Regions from separate parts of the Homo sapiens genome. Here region 1 is linked to region 2. Evidence: promoter capture Hi-C in 16 types of primary human blood cells and fetal thymus (Javierre and others, 2016). All regions are on one chromosome and are shown on one strand. Each heading gives the region's core, a stretch centred on a gene start or on the middle of the fragment in contact. The rest is flanking DNA. Distances are from core to core; before and after follow the strand shown. Region 1 overlaps STXBP4 (syntaxin binding protein 4). Region 2 holds the start of PCTP (phosphatidylcholine transfer protein).

Evidence for each region. Contacts are between HindIII fragments. The CHiCAGO score rates a contact against its expected background, and 5 or more counts as called.
Region 1: a contact is called between a fragment that was not itself captured here and the fragment with the promoter of PCTP in region 2, in 1 of 17 cell types (erythroblasts). The highest score is 5.7, in erythroblasts.

What each region holds. Positions count from the first base shown.
Region 1 is chr17:54,980,743-54,987,412 of GRCh38, reverse strand. STXBP4 (syntaxin binding protein 4) reads right to left here. Exons shown (of 18, transcript NM_178509.6): 2 at 1,722-1,799; 3 at 1,147-1,271. The coding sequence starts at 1,193. Among named protein-coding and RNA genes, the nearest start is that of STXBP4, 15 kb to the right of the region's middle. The HindIII fragment of the contact is 5,509 bases long and covers 1,662-6,670 here.
Region 2 is chr17:55,745,972-55,752,345 of GRCh38, reverse strand. It overlaps PCTP (phosphatidylcholine transfer protein), which reads right to left and starts at 1,295. Exons shown (of 6, transcript NM_021213.4): 1 at 1,102-1,295. The coding sequence starts at 1,242. RefSeq lists a silencer at 1,158-1,497. The HindIII fragment of the contact is 1,470 bases long and covers 1,225-2,694 here.

The sequences.
Region 1 (6,670 bases), core at 3,167-5,666, 770 kb after region 2:
TAAGAATATTCTGGGGAGTGGAATCCAAATATATATAATTATCATGTGTACATACATATGTGTATATTTATTTTTATATATATGCATTGGCTTAACCAAAAAGAAGCACTACAAAAGGACCAAGAATAAAAACAACTTTTTATAGAGGGAATGAGGGCACACAGTGAAGACTAGAATAACAGCAAGATTTTTTTTAATATGCCTTGTTAAAGGTATGTTTTACGTTTGCAAAATGGCCACCAATTCCTCCCATTCCTGTCTGCATGCATCTTGGTAATGTGACTTTACTGCTTCCTTTCACTAAAAGCAAAGTCTGTATCTCCACTCCTTGAATTTTCATTTGGCTATTTAAATTGCTTTGGCCCATGGGATACCAGCAAATGTGAGGAAACTGGGTATTTGGAAAACACCTGTGCTTCTGCTACCATGTGAAAAGCTTGAGCCAGCCTCCTGAAGAATGACAGACCAGTTCTACAGAGACCTCTGCCATTCAACCTTCCTAGCTGAGGCCTCACAAGATGTAAATGAGGCCATCCTACATTATCTGGTATAGAGCAGAACTGCTCAACCAACCCACTGAATCATGAGAAAAAATAAATGCTTATTGTTTTAAGGGATTTTAGGGTGGTTTGTTAGTCAGCAAGAGTTAATCTATATATTATCAAATTTTTTTAATGGAATTATAAAATATTCTAGATATTAAAAATCAAAATTTAAAAAAGAAATCTCACAAAAGAGTTTTTAAAAATGTATTTGACAATTGTCTATTTTTTATTATTTTTAGAGACAGAGTTTTGCTATGTTGCCCAAGCTGGAGTGCTGTGGCTATTAACAGGTACAATCATAGCATACTACAGCCTCAAACTCCCAACTTCAGGCTATCCTCCTGTCCTAGTCTCCCGAGCAGCTGGGACTACAGGCATGCCCTACCGTGCCTGCACAGATGACTTAAAAGAGAATGCAGATTTTGTTCTATACACTGATTTACATTGAAAGGTAATTCAACGTATTACTTTACTCACTACTCATTGCTGCTATCCTAGACCACATTAGAGAGCTAGATGTAAAAAAACTTTTAATCAAATGTTCATTAATAGTTTACATATTTCAAACTATATTTCAAAACATATTAAACTTAAAAATTACTTTTCAAGTAGACTGGGTGATACTACAGTAGATGTATTTTTATTCATGCTTTCACCAAAGTAGCCTTGGATTTAACAGCTGTATAAATGAAGATCTTGATGAAGAGTCTAGAAATTCTTCTTTTCCTAGGATTGAAGAAGTAGAAAATAAATTGTCAGGTCTTAGAACTGTCAAATTTGATTCCAACTGTTCATAAAAACATTATATACACTTGGAACATAAATAATATAAGCCTGTATATAGATGTTAGATGTATTGTATGTATTTTGTGTTATGGCATTTTATCATTGACAATAACATCCGAGAAGTGTAAAGACAGCTCATTAGATAGATAAGTCTATGTCTATATCATTATGAATATCCATATCTATATAACATCTTCATTTTCTGGCAAAAGTGAACATACAGCTAAGCTTTAGGTAACTATTACAACTTCCACCCTTGGTAAGCTTAAAAATCACATAATAGTTAAAGATTAAGGAAAATGTCTCCTGTGAGTACAAGGCTACGAAGCTTATAGTCAGAAAAATAATTATGCAATGCATTTGAAAAAAACTAAATTCTTATTATCTTACCAACTATCTTGAGACACTTCCTGCAGATCCTATATTACTCTGACTAATATTATTCCAGGAACTTCTTAAATGGCTTTCCTATGAAGAGAAAAAAATATGCTTTTAATGTCTTATATTGTTCCACTGTGAAAATTACAGAGAATAGTGGTGTCATTTAATTAAAACAAACTGTATTTGAACAGAGATTTACCACCTTTTCATAAGAACAATGAATGAAGCAAAGGAACTTAAAGTTGAAAAAGACACTAGGATCATTTAGTACAACTCTCTTCCTGAAGAAATGAGGAGCTAGATTCAGAGACTGTGTGGTTTTCCCTCACAAATGAAAAATAGTGTTTTTGTTGTTGTTGTTGTTGTTGTTTTTCTTCTCCTAACTAGAACTCAGGTTATAGTCTACAGGATGGACCTTGAGATCTGATAGGCCTGGGTTCTCATTTGAAATTTTGGGCTTCTCCAAGCCTCAGTTTCTACAGAGGTACAGTAGGTGCCTTGATTGTGGCGATGATTTCACAAATGGATACATGTCAAATGTAACAAACTGTCTCACTTTAAATATCTGCTGTTTGTTGTAAATCAATTATAGCTTAATAAAGTTAAACTTTTAAAAAACCCGATTTTCAGTTAAAAATGGCATCTTGACCTTGGCACATATATTCTTTCCCTCCCAAGAGCCAACTAATATGAAAGTCTTAGGGTAAAGAGTTACAAACAGTACAAACTCAGAATGTTGAAGAGTAAATGGGAAAAGAGCCATTGGATGAAAATTTTGAACAAGTTTTTGGAAGATAAAAAAAAGATGGTTGGGTGATAATTGGTAAAAGAGGGGTGAAGAAGCTGAAATTTAGGGCAGTGCTTCTTAAACATTTTTTAAGTCTGAGCACACACATAATGGTAATATTTGTATGGCATACTAAGGTAAAGAAAGCTGATATCCTCTGAAAAGCTGAGGAGAATCAATATATCAGCACATCAGCAACTGATTCACAACAAAATTCTGGCCTAGGAAACAGGTGCAGGAGGAACATATCTTAAAGAATCCCAGAGAAACTGGCCGGGTGCGGTGGTTCACGCCTGTAATCCTAGTACTTTGGGTGGCCGAGGCGGGTGGATCACGAGGTCAGGAGATCGAGACCATCCTGGCTAACACGGTGAAATCTCGTCTCTACTAAAAATACAAAAAAAATTAGCCGGGCGTGGTGGCAGCGCCTGTAGTCCCAGCTACTCGGGAGGCTGAGGCAGGAGAATGGCGTGAACCTGGGAGGCGGAGCTTGCAGTGAGCCAAGACCGTGCCACTGCACTCCAGCCTGGGCGACAGAGCCAGACTCCGTCTCAAAAAAAAAAAAAAAAAAAAAGAAAAAAGAAAAAGAGAGTCCCAGAGAAATTGAAGACTCAGAAACAAAAAGTTCTAGGGAGAACAAAACTGAGAGATTAAAGACTAAAATCAAGAGGATCATCCTATCTTTTCTTCAACCACTGTATGCAGAAGAAATCATAGATTCTTCCGTAAATTAACTGAATGGGCCCCAAACACAGAGCCAACTACTTTTGAGACCCTAACATAGCAATGTATTCACTGGTCTGGGTGGTAAAAACACATTTCGACTTTCACGCCCTCTGTAGTAGCAAGCAACAGGAACAGTGGAAGCATGCAGATCAACAGCAGCCAGAAAAATGAAGCCACCAAGCCACAATGTCAGTAGCAAAAGTCCAATGACCATGAAGTAAGAAAGTTATTCAGTACCCATGAGGAAAAGAAGGGCCACCTGAGGGAGGAGCTTAAAATCCTTGGGCTTTGACTAGTAGTCTCTCAGAGTCAAGAGCCACTGCAGCTGTCCACAAGACTGATATAGTCATGGAAGAGAGTTCAATTCTAAAACTAAGTTTGCATAAGTTCATTATAGACTGCTTTAATGATACACGCATGGAGCAGATTCTCAAACCTCAAGAGAGGTCATTCTCAAATAATAACAATAATAGCAACTACCATTAATTGGCACTATGTTTCACACACTATGTATTCCAAATGTATTTATTTAATATTGTGGAAAATGTACTAGACATAAGTAAAAAAAAAAGAAAAGAAATGCAGAGTTCAAATGGCAATACTGCCATGGGCTAGTAATATGGCATTAGAAAAATTGCCTAACCTCTTAGCATCTCCTCCTATTAAGTAAGGTAAGAATAGTAACACCTTGCTCAAAAGCAGATGTGAAAAACTGAGCAGTCTTTCTACTGGTACCAAAGTGAGTAAGATCCTCATCTTTGGTGAGTTGTTCTAACTGGACACAGGTCCCCAGGTCCCCTGGGAACATATTCAAGCCTAATGATGTATAAATGCTACTCTACAATAGATTCCATATAATATACTTAACAAGACATTTTAAAACATTTCTATTTTAAGGTTTAAAATAAAATTTAGGTGTTTATTCCATTCACTTAACATGCTGGCAGTGTCCTAAGTGCCAAAGATGAGATGAGATCAGGAGGGGTGAAGTGCTCTGACAGCAGTATACACAGGGAGTATGGAGAAAGGCTGCGTAACCTGGGATCTAAGTCATCATTAAACACGAATACAGCCAGGCACCATGTTACAGGATTTTCTTCCCACAGGAGCCCCACAAGGGAGGTATTATTAACCCAATTTTATACAAAAGAAAAATAAGTCATACAGAAAGTATGTGGCTTGTCCATTGTCACAGGCTAGTTGTAAAGTAGAGTTTGAACCCTGCTCTTTCTTGCTCCAAACCCAAGCTGTTTGTTTCTACTACAGTATGCTGGAAAATTAATTCAGGTAAAAAGTTTGATTCACCAAAAAAGTGGAATGAGAGAGTAAGGAGTGGTAATGTGTTATCTCTTTTATATAAAGATGACACTATTGATTAAACAGAAGTGGGTTTAATCTTATCCATCCCAACAGTGGTATTCATTGTCATGTCCTTAAATATCATAAAATGCCTGTCCTTTCCCTCTCCTTTGCCTGCTTCCTACTCTCTCTTTATACAAACTTGCAAGGCCCTCAGCCAACAGGGATTCCAGTAATGTTACATACACATACTCACCACACTCACACACACACACACACACACACACACACACAAACCACCCTCAAGTTCCCATAATTAATAAATAACACAGAAGGAAAACATTCTGTTCTTTTACTAAAAATATGAACATTGAAGACAAATATATTGTTATTCTAGTTTGGTGAATCATAAGAGGCAAACAGGTCAGCAAAAACAGAGAAAGTGGAACATTGGAGAAAAAAAATCTTGTTGTTAAAGATGAATCTATTCCAGAAAACTTAAATTAGAGCTTTTCTTTGATAAGTCTGTTTACTTATGATCTCATTAAAACAATCTTCATCCCATGTAATTAGAAATCTCATCAGATTAAAAAAATCTGTCCATAACGCATATGGTGTTTGAGTAAGACTTAGTAATTTATATTCTCAGACATGGTATTCAATAAAACCAGTTCTTTTCACTGGACAAAAAATAGAGAAAATAAAAGGGATAAAAATATCTTCTGCCAGAAATTATAGTAAATATTAATTTAATGAAATTACAAAAATGCCATAATGAAATTGATACAAATTGCCAAATGTCCCTCAGTCAGGGTTGTACTAATTTACTATCTCACCAACTATAGTGCCTGTTACTCTAAATTTTCTCCACTATGGTATACTAAATAACGTTTGGATTTTTGCCAGTTTTATTGATGAAAATGGTATCTCAAGGTAGTTGGAGTGAGGCAGAAGAGTTTTTTTATGCTTTAAGAACCATTCAGTATCTTCTTTTATGTGAACTGTGTTTTTTTTACATCTTTTGCCAATTCTTCTATTTATCGTTAGGTCTTTCTCTGTTCAGTTTCTAGGAGTTCTTAAATATTACAGAAATTATCTCTCTATCAGCATTAAGAATTGCAAATATATTTTCCCCCCTTTTCTTCTGGGTTATGGGCTTTTTGTTACACAAAAGTTTGTGGCTAACTTATGAATCTTTTATGATTTCCAGGTTTTAGGTCAAATTAGAAACTCCTTGCCCACTCCAAAGTTATAAAGAATTCTCTCATATTTTCTTCCAGTACTCTTATGGTTTCATTTTTAAATATTTGATCCATTTGGAATCCATCATAATATAAAGCACAGATCCAACTCATATTTTTCCCAAGAAGACCACCCCATTGTCTCAACTACATTTATTAAATCTTTTCCCCACCATTTTGAGATACAACTTTCATCATATACAAAATCTCTTAAGTGTTTGGGTCTACTTCTGTAATTTTTATTCTGGCCCTTTGGTTAGGTTGTTTATTTGTACACCAATGCCATTCTATTTTAATTACAGAGGCACTATCATATCTAGTAAGGCCGATCATCTCTCATTTGTTCTTTTGTTAACCAAGTTTCCCTGGTTGTTTTTGGTTGTTTATTTTTACACATTAAATTCAAAGTATTCTTATCTTGTTTAAAAAACAAAACAATGCTATTTGTAAGGGAATCACACTAAATTTACAAATAATTGAAGAAGTATTGTTATCTATGATGTTATTTTGAGTCTTCCTATCCAGGAATTTGGTATCACTTTCTATTTGTTCAAATCTTCTTTTGTGAACTTCTATAGCAGGGGTGGCCAATCTTTTGGCTTCCCCAGGTCACATTGGAGGAAGAATTGTCTTAGGCCACACATGAAATACACTAACACTAATATTGACTAATGAGCTTAAAAACAAATCATCAACAACAACAAAAAAAAAACGCAAAAAAATCTCATGTTTTAAGAAAGTTTACGAAATTGTGTTGGAACACATTTAAAGTTGTCCTGGGCCACATGCAGCCCATGGGCCACAGATGGGACAAGCCTGTTTCTACTGTGTTTTAAAGTTGCCTTCACAGTGACCTTGTGAGGCAGGAGAATAGGGTCTGGAGGCAGGGAGCCTAAGGCTGATTG
Region 2 (6,374 bases), core at 46-2,545:
TGAGACAGGCAGAGTTTTCATTCCTGCAATGAGACAGGCAGAGTTTTCATTCCTGTTTAACAGGTGAGCAACTTCTAAATATTGCAAACGTTTGTTTTCTGTTTTAAAATATAAAAACACTATATTTGATGTAAACAAAAATGCAAGTGCCTAAAAAGGCAACCACATGTTTGACATTCACAAGATCATGAACCCTCCAATCCCACCTCTGCTATTCACTTATCTGGGCCATTTCAGGAGTGACTTCACCCTTGAGGCCTGTTGCTTTCACCTATGAAACCTGGGGTTTAACCAGGTGAGCATGAGGTATCCTCCTAACTCTAACACTATAATATCCTGGTCCTGTATTAGGAAACTTCAGTTTCACCCACATTACCTGCAGGCGACTTTTAACCTACTTGCCATGCTGCGACTATTACACAAAGCAACTGATGACAAGCCTTGGATGACAGGCCTCAGGGGCAATGCCTTCCACCTGGATGGCTACCTGATTCCAAAGACTTCAACAACCAATCCCATTCCTCCTACATCTTTACTCCTGCCTGAAGATTCGGACTCAACTTATTAAGAGCAACTTGGAAGGAAGGGGCAACAACCAAAAGAAACGAGTCACTAAAACAGTAGGGCCCTTCTCGGCAACCCCTGACACCACCCTGCACATCCAGTCCTTGAAAAGTTCTGTTTCTTTTCCTCCTATATCCAAGCCCTAAGATACCGCCCCTCCCCCACCCCAGCCCCCATATGCCACTGACACGCATTGGAGAGTGAGGATCAACGTCCCTTGCAGACGTGTGCACGGGCCTAGGAACCAGCTGACCCACGTTTCAACTGTCATTAACTTCTAACTACATGCCCCGTCGGGCCTGACCTGAGGCTGAACTCCTGTGACCTTCCAACTCCCCTGGATCTGCACGGCAGTCACTTGGAGGCACCGCCCCTGCGCTAGCTCCAGAGCTTGAGACAGGGTCCGGGCGGAGCTCCTTCCTGAGCCGGAGAAGACGCGCCCCTGTCCCTTCCGCGACTGCCGCCCCGCACTCCCTGCGGGGAGGTCGACCCCGGCGCATTCTAGGCCCCGCGGTCCTCCAGCGGGTTGGCCGCTACCTTGTCCAGCAGCCGGTAGATGCTGATGCCCGAGGTCTCCACTAGGAGCTGCCAGTCGGCCCCGGCCAGAGCGGGCTGCTGGAGCTCGGCGCAGGCCTCCCAGAACTGCTCCTCCGAGAAGCTTCCGGCGGCCAGCTCCATCCTTCCGCAGTCCGGGCTCCTCCGCCTGGAGGGCAGGCCGCGGACACCCTTAGTGTGGGCCTGGGGGCGGGGTGACCGGGCTGCCCCGGCTGCCCCGGCTGCCCCAGCGTCATTGGCAGGAAACTGAGGAGAAGGCGGGGCCTAGACTGGAGGAGCGGCCTGAGGGTGGGGCCCTGGAGGGGCGGGCCTAGAAAAGCGGGCGGGGCTGAGCAAGGAGTGAGGAGGATAGACAAGAAGTAAAAGGAGAAAAATTGGACTTGATGTGGGGAAGGAAGGAAGAGCTGGAGAAGTAAGGAGGCTTCCAGAGGGAAGGGAAAAAGGAAGGGAGACAGTGATGTCACCTCAAAAACAGCTCCTCAGTAGCCTATCCCATACTCCCTGCTACTCCCATAACCTACAGACCTGTTTGAGTGTCTCTCATTTACCTTTCTGAATAAAGTAGAGAAAGTCTCTTTGGTAGACATGAGAGGAGAGGTGGGCAGAGTAGAAATGCTGGAAAAATCCTAAGGGGTCAAATGCCAGAAGTGTATTTCAATATAATTTCTCTTCTTTCTGCTATACATTGTAAAACATTATTCTGAGACGAGGTCCATTGGATTCCCCAGAAGACTCTAGGGGTTCATAACACCAAAACAGTTTAGAAACCTAATCCATAATGGATCTACAAGGTTGTTGCCACCCTTGAGGGTAGAAACTGATCTGAAAGGTGTCGTACTATCCACCTAGGATTTCTGCAACTTGCATAATTTAGCTCACTGTGCAACTCAAACATCTTCTTGTTCCTTTGAAGTCCCTTGAGTAATACTGTATTTCCCACCAGCAGACTGTACTACCTGACTTTGAATAAAGTAGGTCGTTTGAACATCAAAACGATGTAACAGCCACGTGAGTGCCAATAAACTCTGGAAACTCATGTTTCCTAATCTGTAAAATGGGTCAAGAATTGTGCTACCAGTTACAGCTGAGGAGGTGGTTGGACAAGGAATAATTTTCCACAGTGCCCGTCCAAGTAAATGTTCAATAACAATTTCCACTTGTTTTGCATTACTATATTGAAATGCTTTTCTTTCCTTACTTGAAAGAAAGTTGATGGCAAAGTCTTAATTTATGTGATTTTCCAATCAGGCAAATGATCACATTTGGCAGCTTGCTTAGTTAGACACAGCAGAGATAAATAATTGCTTTCCTCAAGTCAGTCCTGGTTCTGTTTGGCTTTATAGGTGTGGAAAGAGGGATGTGAAATTTTCCTAGACTAAATGCACAAAAGTTTAGGCTAGACATACTTTCCCACTGTTTTATAACTCCTTGTAAATTTTCTATGTATTGTAAATCCATATTTTATTTAAATGGAAATTCATTGCTTGAAAAACCAATTGTGTAAAAACTATTGGCTATGAAGTATTTTCAAGTATCTTCAAGGAATCCATTATAAAGGTTTGATTTGATAAAGCTTTATTACTATATGGCAATAGACTAATGGAGACAAGCATAAGAACACAAACGACATCATGCAAGATATAAAGCACGCACTTCAAATTGTATTTATTGTATGTGTTTAAAAGTGTGTTGCCTAATAAACTCAGGAGAAAAATAAATATATCCTTGAATATGCTGAGATTTACACTCAGTTATTTTATTACAGTTAATGAAAGAATAATGTTAGGAAATATTTTATGGTATCTCTAAAGTCTAAAAACAGCTAGGAAAGGGATCCAGGAAGGCCTGTTCTTGAGAAGTTGCCTTAATAGCCTGTTTCCTTTGTGAAAAAAAACTCTCTGAAACAACTTCTGGCAAAATGGCAACTAAAGCTCCTGGCTTCAAACATGGAAATGTTGGTTAAAACGTGTTGAAAATAGTTGTAAATACATGGTTTAGCTGAAAAGTGAAAAAGGATACTTCCAGGTTTCAGAAAGGGAAGAGAGAATGAAAGCCAGCAACACCAGCTCCTGAATATTCTTAGAATGGATGATTGGTCCTCTCCCCACCTCCCCATGCAGTGTTTCCCAGTGGAGGAACTTCCATTAGGGAAATGTTTGACCTCACTCATTTGCTCAACTCCTACTCTGGAGAAGATGGGTGATTTAAATGCAGCCATGCATTGCTTAATGACAGGGATATATTCTGAGAAATGTGTCATCGGGCAATTGCATCCTAAAGCATACATCATAGAGTGCACTTAAACCAACCTAGATGGTAGATTCTACTACATATGTAGGCTGTATTGTAGAGCCTATTGTTCCTGGGCCACAAACCTGTACAGCATGTTACTGTACTGAATACTGAATGCAATTGTGACACAATGGTATTTGTGTATCTAAGCCTAATTAACATAGAAAAGGTAAAATAAAAATATGGTGCTATAATCATATGGGACCATCATCATACAGGCAATCCAACATTGACCAAAATGTTATTATGATGTGCATGACTGTAGTTGATGAGTTTAGGAGAAGGAACTACTGGTCAGGTCTAGATCAACCCTTCTGGCTCTTCCTTTTTGGCAACTGTCTACTCATAGAAAATATGCATTCTCATCTGCCTTAGGTTTTATAGTAGACTCAAGAGGACAGGCTCTGACACCAGAATCTAGGTTTCCTAATGATGCCTGTGCCTGGATGGCAAGTTTGATTATAGGCAGAGTGTTATAATTCTATTGTTGCCACAAACCCAAGCCCTGTTCTCCAAGCAGCTTTATTTGTAATAAAGGTGAAATGCTGATCCATTGTCTGATTAGCATCTACCTTTAATGTGATTCAGAATGCAGATGGGGAAGAGAAGAGCATTGACTTTGAAAAATAACCAAGTAGACCCTCCATAAATACAAAATATAGTTATTAAAATTAAAAATTTAAAAGAAAGGTAAAATGGTTGCCCTACCACAGTTCAAGAGAGATCAGGGAATAAGAAAGTAGCTGTGATGAGTAAATTCCCAGGAAGCAGAACAGAGGTATAAAGAAATGGAAAACATGAAAGAGTAATTAAGAAACACGAAGGACACATTGAAAAGGCTAAACACTTCTTACTGAAGCCCAATAATCAGAGAATAAAGAGGCCAGGGGATGGGATGGGTGGGTGGGGAGAATACAGAAAAAAAAGGCACATATAAAAATAAAGTGGAACAAAAGTTCTAACCTACAGAAACCTGGAACAAGGGAGGGCAAGATCAGAGTTGTGTTAAGGAGGCAGATGCAAGATATTAACTTTAGTGTTTTTTAGTTTACTTTAACTGTGCATATTAAACTTTGAGGATATGAACTCTCACAAATCAATGATAAAAAAAAACCTACCCAATAAAAATAGGTAAAAAAAAAAATTTAAACAGACACTTCACCAAAAAATATATACTGGTGGCAAATAAGAATATGAAAAGATGCTCAACAACATTAGTCAATAGGGTCATGTAAATTAAAATCACAATTAAGTGCCACTATGGCTATTTTAGAATAGCTAAAATTAAAAAGATTAATCAAAGCAAGTGTTGGCAAGGATGCTGAGGAACTAGAACTCTGATACATTGCTGGTAGAAATGAAAACAGTACAAATGCTTTGGAAAACTGACAATTTTTTTAAAAAGTTAAACGTACACTTAACATACAATCCAATCATCATACTCCTAGGTATTCACCCAAGAGAAAAAAATAAAGCATTGTTCAAACATTGACTTGTACACAAATGTTCATGGAAGCTTTATTTGTATTAGCCCCAAACTGGAAACAACCCAAATGACCTTTAATGGGTGAATGGATAAAACGAGTTGTGATATATTCAGCAATGCAGTACAATTCAGTGTGTGTGTGTGTGTGTGTGTGTTCCTTGATCTGTCCATTAAAATGATCTGGAAGCCTAGAAGCATTGGCATGCCATTAGCATTGAGCGCACCTGTGGCCAGTTCTTGGCTTCTGTATATCATTGTCTACTAAAAGATTCTTGGAAAAAAGACTGATTCTAGAACTGGGGCAGGGAACTTCTAAAGTAAGCCTAAAACATGTTGTGCCTGAGAATAAGGAGAGACGTTCAAAGACAATTAGAGTTATGTCTAAAAGATATGGGAGTTGGCTTGAAAGAGTTCCCAGTCTCCAAATTTTGGGAAATTTGAGATCACAAAGAATAGTTATAGTAATAGATTATAAAATATTGGATTTAAAAAGAAATCTGTGTGTCCACAGTGTTACTCAATTAAAAAAAAAGTAGGGAAGAAAAATAGGGAAGACAGAGAGGAGAAAATTTCTTCTTTAGAAAAGAATGCCAAAAAATTCAGGTAGAAAGAATGTCAACATTTGAAAACTTGCATTCTTTGACCCCCTATTAATAATTAATAGATTTAGGCAAGGATCATAAATGGATGCTGCAACCACTGGGTGAAAGGGTATGCAGATTAGACTTTTCATTTGATTGCAAAGAATCACCCATTGATTACTTACTACGTACAGTCAGGAAAGTGTAACTTTATAATGGGAAGATCTAGTGGTTGCCACCTTAACCAAGCTATCAATTGCATCACAAATAGTGGGACAACTGACATCACAGCCTCCATGACATGATGCAATAAGTTTATAATATCACCTAAACATTTTTGCCAAAATATCTAACTTGTAACTAGTCATAAGACCCCAATCAGACAAATCCAGTAAGTGGAAAATTCCTCAGAATAACTACTAAAACAATTCAATATGAAAGAAACTATTCTAAAAGTCAAGGGAAATAACAATTATGTGTCATGCATAAATCTTGAGTCGTGGATTAGGAAAAAGCCATTAAAAGGCATTTCTGGGATAATTGGGGGTATTTGTTTATGCACCACTTTTAGAAAATATTATAAAACTATTGTTAACTTTGTAGGTGTAAAAAATGTTATTGTGGTTGAGTGGAATAATATTCTTATTCTTGAGAAATGAATGCTGAATTATTTAGGGGTGAAGCAGCATGATACTTGCATCTTATGTTCAGATGGTTCCATTAAAAAAAGTGTGATTGATATATAGATAGAGAAGCAAAAGTGACAAAATAAATAATTGATAAATTTAGATGAAAGGTAGCCAGGATTTTATTTTCTATTTCTTCAACTTTTCTGCATATTTGAAATTATTCAAAATAAAAATTTAGGAAAAACCCAGATATATGTATTTATAAGA